4 separate regions of the Homo sapiens genome follow, and regions 2, 3 and 4 are each linked to region 1. The links are contacts of gene promoters, found by promoter capture Hi-C in blood cells and fetal thymus (Javierre and others, 2016). All regions are on one chromosome and are shown on one strand. The core of a region is centred on a gene start or on the middle of the fragment in contact, and the rest is flanking DNA. Distances in the headings are between cores, read along the strand shown.

Region 1 (3,255 bases), core at 587-3,086:
TGTAAAACTGGACAGCCTCTCCGGTAAAGTTATAGCTAGACATCCTGTTTTTCTAAACAGCCGCAAGACACAACACAGAATTAAGTGCTGCCACCACCGTGGGAAGTAATGAACATCTTAAAAAGTACTGCACACAAGCTAAATATTTCCTTATAATTCAAGCCACTCCCACCCAAAAAATGCATTTTGGATCACTACCGTTACTGGTGAAAGGCAGTCAACAACATTATATTTAAATGTGCACACTTCACAGTCAATGGGAATTTCTTGTAAAAGTTAAAAGCTTTGCAGTACTGTATCTGTTGCAGCAATAAACCCTCTATGATGCTACAGATTCCCAATAAAACGTCAGTAATTATTTTTCTACACGCAATCATCATATCATCATACAGAGAAAAAAACCAGAAATTCAAGTTCTTAAGTGGGTGTATTTTAACAGGAATTAAGGGCACTTGGAGAAAATCCAAGATGACAATCCTTGAGAGTCACATCTCCATCCCAAAGCTACTTAACGCTAATGGCAAATACCACTCTAACATTTATGAAATCAATACTCCTGTTGTCCTCAACCTCTTAGCCACTTGCCATCCACACAGCACCAGCTCACTTAGGGAACAGTGTGCACCCAGGACACCCACGGCCGAACAGACCGCTGGCCGCTTCCCTGCTGAGGTGGCCTGGGTTCCCACCTTCTGAACTTGGGGCCGGCCTGCCTCAGGCCCTGTCACATGGCGTGGGAGGAGCCGGGAAGGCCACCGTTGCCAGGTGTTCAGGCTCGGCCCCTAACGTTTATTTGCCTTGCAAAGTGGCCCGAACGCCTGTGCCGCTTGGACAGGGGGTGGGGAGGACCGGGGGCCTCCCCGCCTCTCCTCCCTCGTACACCCACAGCCGCCCTGTCACCTGGTCGTCCTCACCTGAGTGGGCAGCAGGAGTTCCCCTTCTTCTGCCTGCCACAGCTCCACCACGTTCGGCAACGGCTCAATCGCTGCAGGAACACCAAAAAATACACCACGTTTTTAATGCACGCTAAAGAAACGCTTCCTGTTTCCCCTACCGTCCCTCCGTGCCCCCCGCCTCACCAAAACACGTCTCTTTTTCCTCCTGGGAACAGAGGCCATCCCAGGGGCGAGCCAAGGATAAAAATACAATGGGTGGGGTGTGAGCCGGCGGCCCCTCGGACGCGAAGGCGACAGCGTGCAGGCAGGCTCGGGGTGCTCGTGCTGGGGGTGGGGGGACGAAGTGGGAGTGAAGACACCCCACGAGGCACTCCGGGCTCCGCAGCCCGAGCATCTGGAGTGTGGACCCTGGGCGGCCAGGCTCGGGGGAACAAAGCTGCAGGAAGCCGGGCCGCTGCGGGGCACCCGCGCGCGCCACACAAAGCGGGGGCTGCGCCCGGGGCGCAGGGGCCCGCGCACAAAGGCTCCAGGGCGCGAGCGGCTAGCGGTCCCCAAGCCCCGCGACTGCCCCGCTCTCCAGCTGTACGGGGCAGAGAGGCGCGGGACGGGACGCTGTGGTCAGAAAATGTTATCAGCGGAGAATCGCAACAGCTTTCCTTCCTCCTCCTGCCCCTTTCCCTTTCCTCCCCTCGCCCTCTTATAGATTTCAGCAGTTCCCTAAAAGAAAGAGCGGGGGCGGGGTGGAGAGGCAGAGCGAGCCCAGCGGCGCAAGGCTGACCTTGTCCCTGAGCCCCTCCCGGGCGACAGCAGGGCAGCAGGACCTGGAAGACGCCCAGCAGGAGGTTCACGGCCGCCGCGGTGCGGCAGTAGCAGCCGGGCTGCGGGCGTCGGAGCCCCGCCATGCTGCTGCTCGCGCTCCTCTCCGTTGCTCGCCGCGCTCGCCGCTAGCTCGCTGGCGCCCCAGCTGCCTCGCCCCGGGCCCGCCCCCGTGCCGCCCCGCCCCGCCCCGCCCCGCCCCGCCCCGCCCCGCGCCGCACCACCCCCGCCGCTGCCGCAGCTGCTGCAGCTCCAGACCCGGGCGCGCCGCTTGCTCTGAGCGCGTGTGCGCCGCAGATAGGGAGGGACGGAACGCGGCGGGGTGCGGGGGAAAGTGGACAATGCGAACCCGCGGGTGCCCCGCCCCGGCGCGGAGCACATGGCCGCGGGCCCGCCCCGCAGCGCGCACTCTGCGGGGCCCGGGCGCTTTCCTCGGCTGGGACGGGGTCGCTTAGAGCTGTCCGCGGGGACTAGCGGCCCACTTTTGCCAAGTGCATTTTCATGAACTTTTGGGTGGTTGCCGCTTTGTCGAGGCGCTTGGGCCACGGTCGAGAGATTACCCTCGAGGGAAGAGGTGGCGGTGGAGGTGGGAACGAGGAGTCGCCAAGCGAGAGGCCTTGGACACAGGATATTAGTGGAAATAATGCAGTGGTTGTCAGGAAACGCGAGTGCAGCCACATGGCCACTGCCAGTTATGCAGCGAGGATATCCGGTGGCTGCAAAGTCTGTAATTTAGAATAAAAAGAGCTCTCCCAAAACCCGAGAGGCAGACCTCAGCGCCGCGTGGCGGTAGTGCGCCCGGCACCCTCTGTGGACACTGTCCAGGTCCTGACAGGTGGGGAAGACTCTTCCTAGGGGATTTATAGCTTCAAAGACCCTGCAAATACTCCCTTTTGGAATCATATTGCAAAATTCAGCCAGCCTCTCCTGAAATATGGTTGGGGTCGAGGATGTGGTTAGTTGCCTGTTTCTAACATTAGTAGGATAATGGAAGTAATACGTGGAAATACATTTCCTAGTTCCAGGTTTTGATGCCTATAACTAACAAGTCCAAAATCTGGCATCTCTTTAAGTTAACATCCTGCCTTTACCAGCGATGTCGCAAACAAGGGCTTATTCAGAAATCAATTTGCATAACCTAGAAGTATGGGCAATCTTATGATTTTTTAAAGTTAACTTACTGCTTCCACTGTAGCTTGTATGAAATTCAGAGAATATGAACAATATAGTATGAAGAGGGGAAGTGATGGGACACACCTGTTTACCTTAATCCTCTGTTTAATTGCTCCTTGTGCCTTACAAGCCAGACTATAGAAAACCAGTGCTTGCATAGCAGACACAATCCTGAGAAGGACAAAATGAAATCTAGATCCTCTTTCCTAAAGACGTAATACAGTACTGTGAACACAGTCTCACACACTGTCTGCATTTAACTCCAAACAAGGTTAAATAGTCTAATTGCTTGGCCAGACTTAACATTTAAGTAGATTAGCATAAACGTAAGTTGTTGATGTGAAAAAAAAAAAGGGACACTTTGCATTTT
Region 2 (3,131 bases), core at 46-2,545, 240 kb after region 1:
ATTTTCCAGGAAAATAAAGGCAGGAATTGGAAAAATGTTCTCAGGGAATACTGATAAGAGACAGTCATCTAAACAAACCTTGTCAGTGATGGTATCCTAGATTCCATGATCCAAAGTAGAGTTATGGTGGGTAGCTAAATGGGATTATACAGAAAAGGATAGAAAGAAAAGGGAGGCTGCCAGGAAAAGAATGAGTTAAAAGAATGAGTTAATGAGGGCAAATGGGATGTGGTGTTCTGTACCTAGCCCAGAACAGGCCAGATTACCTCACCTAGAAGACTTTTCATTAGTGTAGATGGCCCTGCCCAACTCAGCCCTAAGGGAATCCATATTTACCCTAAGGGAGAAGGGAGGTGGAGTTCATTTTAATTGATCCTTCATTGTTATATGAACCTAAGTTGGAAAGGGAAGGAAATGCAATGTGTATCACAAAGAATTTAATCAAGTACTTTCTATCTCTAGTTAAGGGTGAGGTAGTCAAAGCCTTCTGACTCACCCCTGCTCTTTTGTTTCTTGGAGCTGAAGGGCAGGTACCAGTTCTGCCAAAGATGAAATCAAGTGGAAATTTGAGAGGAAAGGTCACGTGGAGCTGGGAAGCAGTGGACCCAGCACAATACCTCCTCCCACCCCCTGGGAAAGGAACCCTCAATACAAGTTGTCAGGCAACAACTCTTAACTACATTCTAAAAATATTGATGTAAAATTTAATCTCCATTTTTAGAAGAAAACAATGAAAAAAGGCATAGATGTGCATACTGCTGCAAGAACAACCCCTCACACCCTAAGGGGCTAGCCTAATCTTTGGATGGCTGGAATTCTAAGTGCTCTAAAATTAACTCTTTAAAAGTCTTTGAATCTAAAGCTGTCTCTGTTCCATAAATTAAAGCTGGTGATTTCCCGGGAAAGCAAAGGGGCCTGGTGGAAGGCATCAGTTGCTCCATGGGGTTGGATTACAGGTCGGAACGAATTTGGGGTTCACAGAATGCTTTGGATCTGACAGGCATTTAGTGAGACGAACCGTCCTCCACACTCCCAGCTTTTTATCTACTTTGTCAGCGGCATGCAGCTTTCAACACCGGGCAAGTATTTTCAGAATACATACACCAACCAGAAAGAGCCCTGCAAACCCTCAAAAGTCACCATCTCCCTGCTCTAATAAGCCCGAACTGTAGTACGAGCTGGGGCAAAGAATAAAAGAGGAGGCTAAAGGAAGGAAAGTAGTTTTAGGAAAATGACCAAACATGTTTTTAAAGAAAAAGAGGAAGCCGATCTTTTCAAAATTACTACAGTCCTGCTTTCAGATTGCTCAGTATCTTTTTTTCTCTGCAAAATGACTTTGAAAGCTATCCTGCATGACGCGGGTGACTGAGGACGGCAGAGGTCCGCGACTCCCGGGAGAGCTCCGCGGGCAGGGCCTGGGAGCCGCGCGGCGTCCAGGTTCTGCTGCTCAGCGGCCCTGTTGCTGACAGCTCTGCGCCGCGCCGACCCACTGCACCCGCTCCAGGCCGGCTGCCAGCCCCGCAGCGCCCGTCCGGAAATGGACTCTGGGCAGGCTTCCCGCACGCTCCGGCCACCGGACCTTGCCCGGGCGGGAGGGTTCCCAGGGCACAGCCCGAGCCACGACTTACTACGAGACGGCGACTCGCTTCGCGGGAACAGCGCGCGCTCCGGAGTGGCCTGGGCCTCACCCCTCGGGCCTGGGCCTCGCTGCGCGCCCAGCCAGGGCCGAGGTGCCCTAGCTCACGACATCAGGCAGCGGGCAGGCGACCCAGGACTTCGCACCCGCTCCTCTCCGCCTCCTCCTTCCTCCCCCGCAGCCGCCCTTCTGCAGCCTCAGGCGATCTGAAGGTGAAACTGCTTTATCTAAGGCCGTTTTCTGAGCGAGCGGCTCAAGTAGTAAAAACAGACCAGAGGAGGAAAGTCGGCCTCCTGGCTGGACTCTGAATGGCTTTCACCGGGTGTCCTCGGCTCCAAATGGCTCTCTGGTCGGTCATTTCCATTCTGTGCTCAGGCCCAGAGCAGTAAGACATCTGTTTTCCATCAACCGCGAGGCAGAGGCAAATCCTGGATTAGATGTCGCCCGGCGCTCGCAGCATTTTCAGGCCCGGCACGACAGCTAATCCCCGCACAAAGAGCATGAAAACAAACACGCAAGTTGGTGCCCGGTTCCAGAAAGATTTCCCTGTGCGATGACTAAAGGCTCCTGCAGCCAGCCTCCAAGATGGGCCAATCGCAGCACAGCGGGGCAGGAAAAGGGGGTTGGCTCGGTTTTCAGGTCTCCTGAAAACGCATCCTCTTCCCCAGTCCCGTAAACACAAATGCAAACACTGTCCTTTCAGGGGAAGTGAGTTCAGCTTGACGGGGCTGAGAGAGCTGAAACGGGCCGGCCTCCATCATGACAGTTCATTATAAGCAAGCACAGCTCCTGAATGTGAGCGAAGAAAAAAAATCTCTGCGTTTCCTTCAAGTGAATGTTAACAAATGAGTCAAGTATGATACAATCAGTCCTGCAAATGATAAGTCATGACTGTCTCTTTAGGCCTTTTTACTCCGTAAAAGAAGTTGGAGTAGGGACCCTTCCTCTCTCTCTCTTTCTTTCCTTCCTTCCTTCCTCCCTCCCTTCCTCGCTCTTTCCTTCCTTCCTTGCTCTTTCCTTCCTTCTTTCCTTCCTTCCTCTCTCCCTTCCTTCCTTCCTCCCTTCCTCCCTCTTTCCTTCCTTCCTCACTCTTTCGTTCCTTTTCTCCCTCTCCCTCCCTCCCTTCCTTCCTCCCTCCTTCCTTCCTTCCTCCTTCCCTTCCTTCCTCTCTCTCTTCTTTCCTCGCGCTTTCCTTCCTTCCTTCATTTCCTCCCTCCCTCCCTTCCTTCCTCGCTCTTTCCTTCCTTTTCTTCTTTCCTTCCTTCCTTATTTCCTCCCTCCCTCCCTTCCTCACTCTTTCCTTCCTTCTTTTCTTCTTTCCTTCCTTCCTTCCTCCCTCCATCCTTCCTTCCTTACCTTCCTCCCTTCCTTCATCTGTCACAAGGCTGAGAATACAAAGCTTGAAAAAGCATGAGTCTACTTTCAAGGGCCTTATCTTCTTTGGGGGGCAGAGGGGAAGGTGGGGAGGGACGACCTACAATTTCAAAACACTATG
Region 3 (3,036 bases), core at 443-2,942, 130 kb before region 1:
ATGCACGCACACTCCCTATTGGAGAAGAGAGGAGACTGAGGCCTTGGGGATTACTTGTCAAGCCTCCAGTGACCTCTTTCTCAGCTTCCACTTCTTCCTACCCCGCAACACAGCCTTCATCCTGAAGGTCTGACTGAGAAGTGAACGTCAACTATCAGCTAAAGAGATTTACACAGATGAGTCATTGAGAAAGAAACAGATTCTACAACAGGAACACACCTACCGGATTAGTATGAGTGAGGTAACTTTTCCATAGTCAGCAGGTGTGAAAACTACGCCAACCCTTTTCATTTCCAAAGGCTGCAGATGTAAGTGGAGGATGCCAAACCTGGATTCCTCAGAATGCGTACCCTGCAAATTAACAAATTAAACCATGTCATACTCCTAGAAAGCAAGCTTCCATTGTCATTAAGTGCATCCTAGAGTTTAAACACGATTGCTTCTCTTTTAATGTCCAGATTTGATCCTCCTAATCAACCTGTTAGAACTTGCTTATCCTGAGAGTTCACTCCAATAAACAGCTTCTGAGCCATAGCTAAGAAATATAGGCAGAGACTACAAGACAACCTCACACAGATGCTGGAGAGGGGATTTGCTTCCTGGTTTGAATGGAAGTTGGGGCTAGAAGCTTTCTACACAAAGATGCTTTGAATGTACAACATCAATCAGAAAACAGACCCAACAGCCTCTGCTTGAATGCTAGAGCAATCTGACAAGACCACTCACCCACCACTGGACAACCCAAAGATCTCTTTATATAAATTCTTTATACTGAATTTAAGTTTATATAGAAATCATCTTTATTATATTTAGTATCTCCAGTCAGAAGAAAGATCTTTATTTATTCACATCTTCCTCTATTTTCTCCAAGATGTCGTGTTTTTTTTTTTTTTTGGCATAAAACTTGTGCTCTAAGTTTAGTATCCAAGGTTTAATTCTTTTTATCTTTTTGGTAAGTGGACTTTCCCTCTTTCCACTGCTTTTTCTAGCTCCATCTCACTAAAAACAATGCAATGTATCACTTCTTAGAGCTAATATATAATCCTGAAGAATATTATTTCTCTTTGTTTTTAACTTTTAATTTTATGTTTCAGTTATTGCTAGTGTTACCCATGCCATCTGAAAAAGAGAATAGTAATAGTATTTGATTATTTGATTCATTTTTATTAGAATTATAAACTCCATGAAGGAAGAAACCCTGCTTTACGCAGGTAATATGAATACTGAATTTAAAAGCTGCTGACTTTTGGTGTTAAACTTATAGTAAAAACAGCACCTCTATTAAATGGTTCTTATATGCCAGGCACTGACATTTTTAGGGTATATAAAAAACTCCAATGTTCTTAACCCAAGGAACTATATTTCTAAAAGCAAATCAGCAAAATCAAAATGCAGGAAGCCTTTCTTTACATGATGAAGAATTCTAATAACAATTCTGAGTTAAATTTTAACTCAGTGTTTTCAAGGCACTGATATTAACTATTCTTTTCATCAATGTAATAAATTAACAATAGTAATAATTTCTCTTATCCCAAAATATATAATATTTCTTGGGAAAAACAGTCATAGATAAAAACTTCTTCCAAATGAGTTACATCATTTGTTCACATCTAAATAGAATATTTAGATTTAAAATAAACGGGCATTATTTTTGGAATTTCAAGCTATACATGATTCAATACCAGTGAGGCAAGATATCACTTAGTATTTTGGACTAATTATCCTGAATAGCCTTGAAGACCTCCTGGTGGAGAAAATGAGAAGGAGAGAGAGGGGCAGACTCGCTAACAAGAATAAAACCACACCTGGGTGCACGGCTTCACCACTCCCCCCAACTCGCCCAGTGCTGCCTCAACACTTAAGAAAAGAAAGGAGAGTCTGTGGTAATGGGTTATCTGTGGTCTCCCTCCTTCTGTTATTGAAAGTAATCTAGAGCCAACAGTATATTTTTGGAGGGATAAAGATAAAGAAAGAAGAAAATACCCAAGGCGCTTAAATATAGTGTAGTAAAAATAGAGTTATCCGCATATGTGAGTTTACATGTGTATGTATGTATTTTTTGTCAACAGATGCTCCACTTTTGAATTGATCTCAAACACAGAATACCTGTAAGGCCAACACTCAGCTGTATATAAATAGCCACGGAATGACTGAGTGGAAACTGAGAAGTAAGGCTGCCAAGTCCCCAGGCAAATAGCATCTTCACCACATGACATGTTTACTCCTACTCCTAAGTATTTGGGCAAGACCTCATGACTGCCCACAGGCTTAAGAATTTTAGAGTAGTCCTTTTTTATAGATAAGGTAAACATCACAGAAATTGGGTGACTTGCTAAAAACAGGAACACAGTTTAGTAAGAGAAGATTTTTTTTAATGTATTTGTTTTTCCTTATCTTGCCCTAAAAAAGAATTTGAGGGCCAAGGAATCTTAAGAGAATTATAAATTCTGGGGTCTCAAGTTTCATGGTTTTCTACAAAGCTCTGTTCAACTGTTATTTCTTTACTCACATGATTCTAAATAATCAAATTAAAATGATTTAGAGCTAACATAAACCCAGCTCCTACCGCACTAGTTAACTGGAAAAATCTGCTATGTATCGTTAATGCCCAGAGAATCAAAATAAAAGAGCCATATATAGTAAATAAAAGACATTTTAAACATAAATCAATGAGGCCCGTATGCTCATGTGTCTAGTTTGTCGGCATTCTTTTTTCTGTTTTAGGATAACATCCTACCAGGTAAGGGCAAGCTTCGGTGAGCTGGAATTCACCAGTTGTGAAATTAATCATCTGCATATCAGTGCCAAACCTATAAGGAAAAAAGCAAATGTTTAAAACAGCACTCACATCTGCCAGTAAAGAAAGATTTAATAAGTGTGTGCACATATATACATTTATACATAGGTGAGTACATTTGCACACACATACACACAAAATTCATCCCATCCTGTCCACCCGACATTCCACCCCACATTCCCACCCAGCTCCACCCCACATTCCCACACCCATATCTGCCATATTGTCAATGATCAATA
Region 4 (3,399 bases), core at 98-2,597, 220 kb after region 1:
AATTACCTCTGAGGTCCTGGCACTTTTCTCATATTGACTCATATTGGACATAAATTCATGCCCAGCAACCCTATCCAAGGAGGAATTTTGGTTGGTCTGGTATCATTTATTCTTATGGAACTCAGGATGCTTTTTTTTCTAGGTACTAACAAACCATCCCATTAATATTCCTTCTCTAGCATTACTCTTGATAGGGAGTTCTGTAGTTTTGTAGAAAAGACTGAAGTAGGCCTGGTGTGGTGGCTCACGCCTGTAATCCCAGCACTTTTGGAGGCCAAGGTGGGCAGATCCCTTGAGATCAGGCGCTCGAGACCAGCCTGGTCAACATGGCAAAACCCCGTCACTACTAAAAATACATAAATTAGCCAGGCATGGTGGCGCGTGCCTGTAGTCCCAGCTACTTGGGAGGCTGAGGCAGGAGAATCACTTGAACCCAAGAAGCTGAGGTTGTAGTAAGCTGAGATGGGGCCTCTGTACTCCAGTCTGGGTGACAGAGTGAGGCCCTGTCTTTAAAAAAGAAAAGAAAAGAAAAAAAAAAAGACAAGCAAAACACAAGGCTCTGCCATGCACTGATTATTAAATGCCCAAGTAATAACATGTCTACTCCTTCATTATTCTTTGTCCTGCTCTGACTGTAACAAAAAGCAAAAGCACGCAAACACAAAGCTCTTTTGTTTCGCCCATTGCTTGGCCTCGAGAATTCAAAGTTGACTCTATCTATCTTGAGTATACCCGGAATGTAATCTCCCGGTGCTAACTATGGGTTCCTGATTGCATCCGTGTCCACATCGATGTGCACATCGGTATCAAGTATTGTTTTTCTCTTAAGCAGAGCTCCATTACCACACTTCTCATTTTAACAATTAAATTCAAGGCGGTGTCAAGTTCCTGCTTGCCTCACCAGTTTACCTTGTTTAATTAATGCAGTGGTTTTGACTACAGGGCTGGGATTTAAGAGTTCGGGAGTCTCCGTGGGCGACTGAGCTGGTGGAGGCTGAACAGAGGCCCCCAGGGCCGGGGCGGGAGCAGGGAGGTGGCCGAGGCGGGAGCAGGGAGGTGGCCGAGGCGGACGCGCTGCTAATAATGCCTGCCTCTTCCACACATGCTTTCCTCTCGGTCCCAGATAGTGGATTACTTTTAGACCAACATGTAATTCAGAGAGAACCTCGCAAATGTTCCTCTCTACTGACCAAATCACCCGACCTCTACGATTCCATCCTGCGGTCATAACCACCGACCTGGGGAAATCTCAGACAGCCCCGGCCACGCATGCCAGGCGGAGCCCTAGGGGCTTTCACCCCGCAGGCTCTGCCGGGGCCCGGGCTCCATAGCAACAGGCCCCGCCCCGAGGCGGGAGCCGAGCTGCGCTCAGGCGGAAGAAAAGAAGGCGGGTCCCCTCCACCCAGATGGCGATTGCGCGCCGGTATTCCGAACCTCTGTCTTTCCCCCACCCCCTCTAGGTTTCCTTTTCTAACCTTTTTGTCTCACCAGGAAATAGAACCACTTTGTAAAAGAACTGATTCAAGTGGTGGCGATGTGGGGAAGAGGAGGGAGTAAGGCCCGCGGTGACAGCATTAAAAGCTGGGAGCCCTGGGGATCGCCCCCGCCTGGCCCTCCAGCAACAGGAGTTCTCCCGACTGTGGCCTTTTCCCGTGTCCGGGGTCCACAGCTCTTTGCCTGCTAACCCTGGAGGGTTCTAAGCCGATGCGCCCATGCTGGGGGTGGGACTTTCTCCGAGTAACATGCTTGGGTTTCCATGCTTTGAAACCTGGAGGTGACACTGAAGTAGGAGCCTGGGCACCTTGGCAGAGGGAGCTAATCAGAGGACAGGGGAATCTGACACCATCCTCAGAAGGCTGCCCCTCCAACATGTTACCAGAAGAGTATTTTCCTAAGCAACCTGCCTGGCACTACAACTCAGGGTCACTTTCATCCACGATTAGAATCCTATGATGAAAGTCAGAATGCATCTGCGATTAAGGCACGGGCTCTGGAGACATATCTGGATTTGCTTTATCTGCAGGTTGCTCCTTGCCTGTCTGTTAGCTCGTTTGTAAAATGCTACCTCCTAATGCCATTGTGATGATTAAATGATCCAGTGTGTCACTGTCAGCCCCATGCCTAACACACAGTAAGTCTCAGGTGCGGTAGTGGAGAAGAGGATGGGCTCTAGAGCCAAGAATGGGTTTGGATCCTGGCTCTGCCACTTACAAGTTGTATAACCCTGGGTAAGTAATTTAACCTGTATTCCTCAATTACCTCAAGTGTACGGGGGATGACAAGGGTACTGACTACATAGCGTTGTTAGGAGAAGGAAATGGTTTGTTTAGTCTATGTAAAGAACCTGATCTAGGCCGGGTGCGGTGGCTCACGCCTGTAATCTCAGCACTTTGGGAGGCTGAGACAGGTGGATCACCTGAGCTCAGGAGTTCAAGACTAGCCTGGCCAACATGGTGAAACCCTGTCTCTATTAAAAGTATAAAAATTAGCCGGGCATGGTGGCAGGCGCCTGTAATCCCAGCTATTCAGGAGGCTGAAGCACAAGAATCGCTTGAATCCCAGAGGCGGACGCGCCAGTGAGCAGAGACTGTGTCACCGCACTCCAGCCTGGGGGACAGAGCGAGACTCCATCTCAAAAAAAAAAAAAAAAAACACATGATCCAATGCCTGATGCATCATAAGCAGTCAGAACATAAATTATTACTATCATTATTATGGCCACTACTAGATTTATGAGTTCCTTTAGAAATGACTGATAATTCACTTTTTTTACTCCTGGAGCTGGGCTCATTTAAGGATTCAGTAAGCATTTGTGGGGTTTTTTTGGGCATATGAATAGTTTAATAAAACACTACACTTCATCACCTTTTCATAAGCCAAATAAAATACATCAATAAATGATAGCGAGCAGAATCATGCAAAATCAGAAGAGATATGCCTATACAGTTTTTTTTTTTTTTTTTTTTTTTTGAGACAGAGTCTCACTCTGTTTCCCAGGCTGGAGTGTGGTGGCGCTATCTCAGCTCACAGCAACCTCAGCCTCCTGGGTGCAAGCAATTCTCCTGCCTCAGCCTCCTGAGTAGCTGGGATTACAGGCATGTGCCACCATGTCCAGCTAATTTTTTTGTATTTTTAGTAGAGACGGGGTTTTGGCATGTTGGCCAGGCTGATCTCAAACTCCTGACCTTAAATGATCTGCCTGCCTCGGCCTCCCGAAGTGCTGGGACTACAGGCGTGAGTGACCGCGCCTGGTGCCTAAACACTTTTATCACACCAGGCTGGACACAGCCTCCCTCTGCATCCTCACCCACTTAGCACTGGTGTCTCCCTGCTGTTTTTGACACAGCTGAGAGGCTGCAGTGCTACTTTGTTACTCTTGCTGAGGTCTCACACTAACTC

Evidence for each region. The method cuts DNA at HindIII sites, captures the fragments that hold promoters and counts their contacts. A CHiCAGO score of 5 or more calls a contact.
Region 2: a contact is called between a fragment that was not itself captured here and the fragment with the promoter of TMEM131L in region 1, in 1 of 17 cell types (activated CD4 T cells). The highest score is 5.8, in activated CD4 T cells.
Region 3: a fragment that was not itself captured here is called in contact with the fragment with the promoter of TMEM131L in region 1 in 4 of 17 cell types (activated CD4 T cells, total CD4 T cells, erythroblasts and 1 more); the score reaches 10.9 in activated CD4 T cells.
Region 4: a fragment that was not itself captured here is called in contact with the fragment with the promoter of TMEM131L in region 1 in 1 of 17 cell types (activated CD4 T cells); the score reaches 6.1 in activated CD4 T cells.

The regions. Positions count from the first base shown.
Region 1 is chr4:153,464,941-153,468,195 of GRCh38, reverse strand. It overlaps TMEM131L (transmembrane 131 like), which reads right to left and starts at 1,836. Exons shown (of 35, transcript NM_001131007.2): 1 at 1,675-1,836; 2 at 915-985. The coding sequence starts at 1,798. RefSeq lists enhancers at 146-205, 576-665, 160-825, 2,196-2,375 and silencers at 1,136-1,495, 1,866-1,965, 2,006-2,155. The HindIII fragment of the contact is 8,794 bases long and covers 286-3,255 here.
Region 2 is chr4:153,221,537-153,224,667 of GRCh38, reverse strand. The region is part of intron 1 of TRIM2 (tripartite motif containing 2); the gene reads right to left. Among named protein-coding and RNA genes, the nearest start is that of TRIM2, 19 kb to the right of the region's middle. RefSeq lists a silencer at 1,555-1,744 and enhancers at 2,135-2,464, 2,260-2,761. The HindIII fragment of the contact is 3,484 bases long and covers 1-3,037 here.
Region 3 is chr4:153,593,573-153,596,608 of GRCh38, reverse strand. TMEM131L (transmembrane 131 like) reads right to left here. Exons shown (of 35, transcript NM_001131007.2): 19 at 2,738-2,810; 20 at 224-351. Among named protein-coding and RNA genes, the nearest start is that of TLR2, 89 kb to the left of the region's middle. The HindIII fragment of the contact is 2,123 bases long and covers 631-2,753 here.
Region 4 is chr4:153,247,249-153,250,647 of GRCh38, reverse strand. All of the region lies in intron 1 of TRIM2 (tripartite motif containing 2), which reads right to left. LOC105377496 (a long non-coding RNA gene) reads left to right here and starts at 2,109. Exons shown (of 3, transcript XR_939360.4): 1 at 2,109-2,228. RefSeq lists an enhancer at 917-966. The HindIII fragment of the contact is 5,663 bases long and covers 1-3,399 here.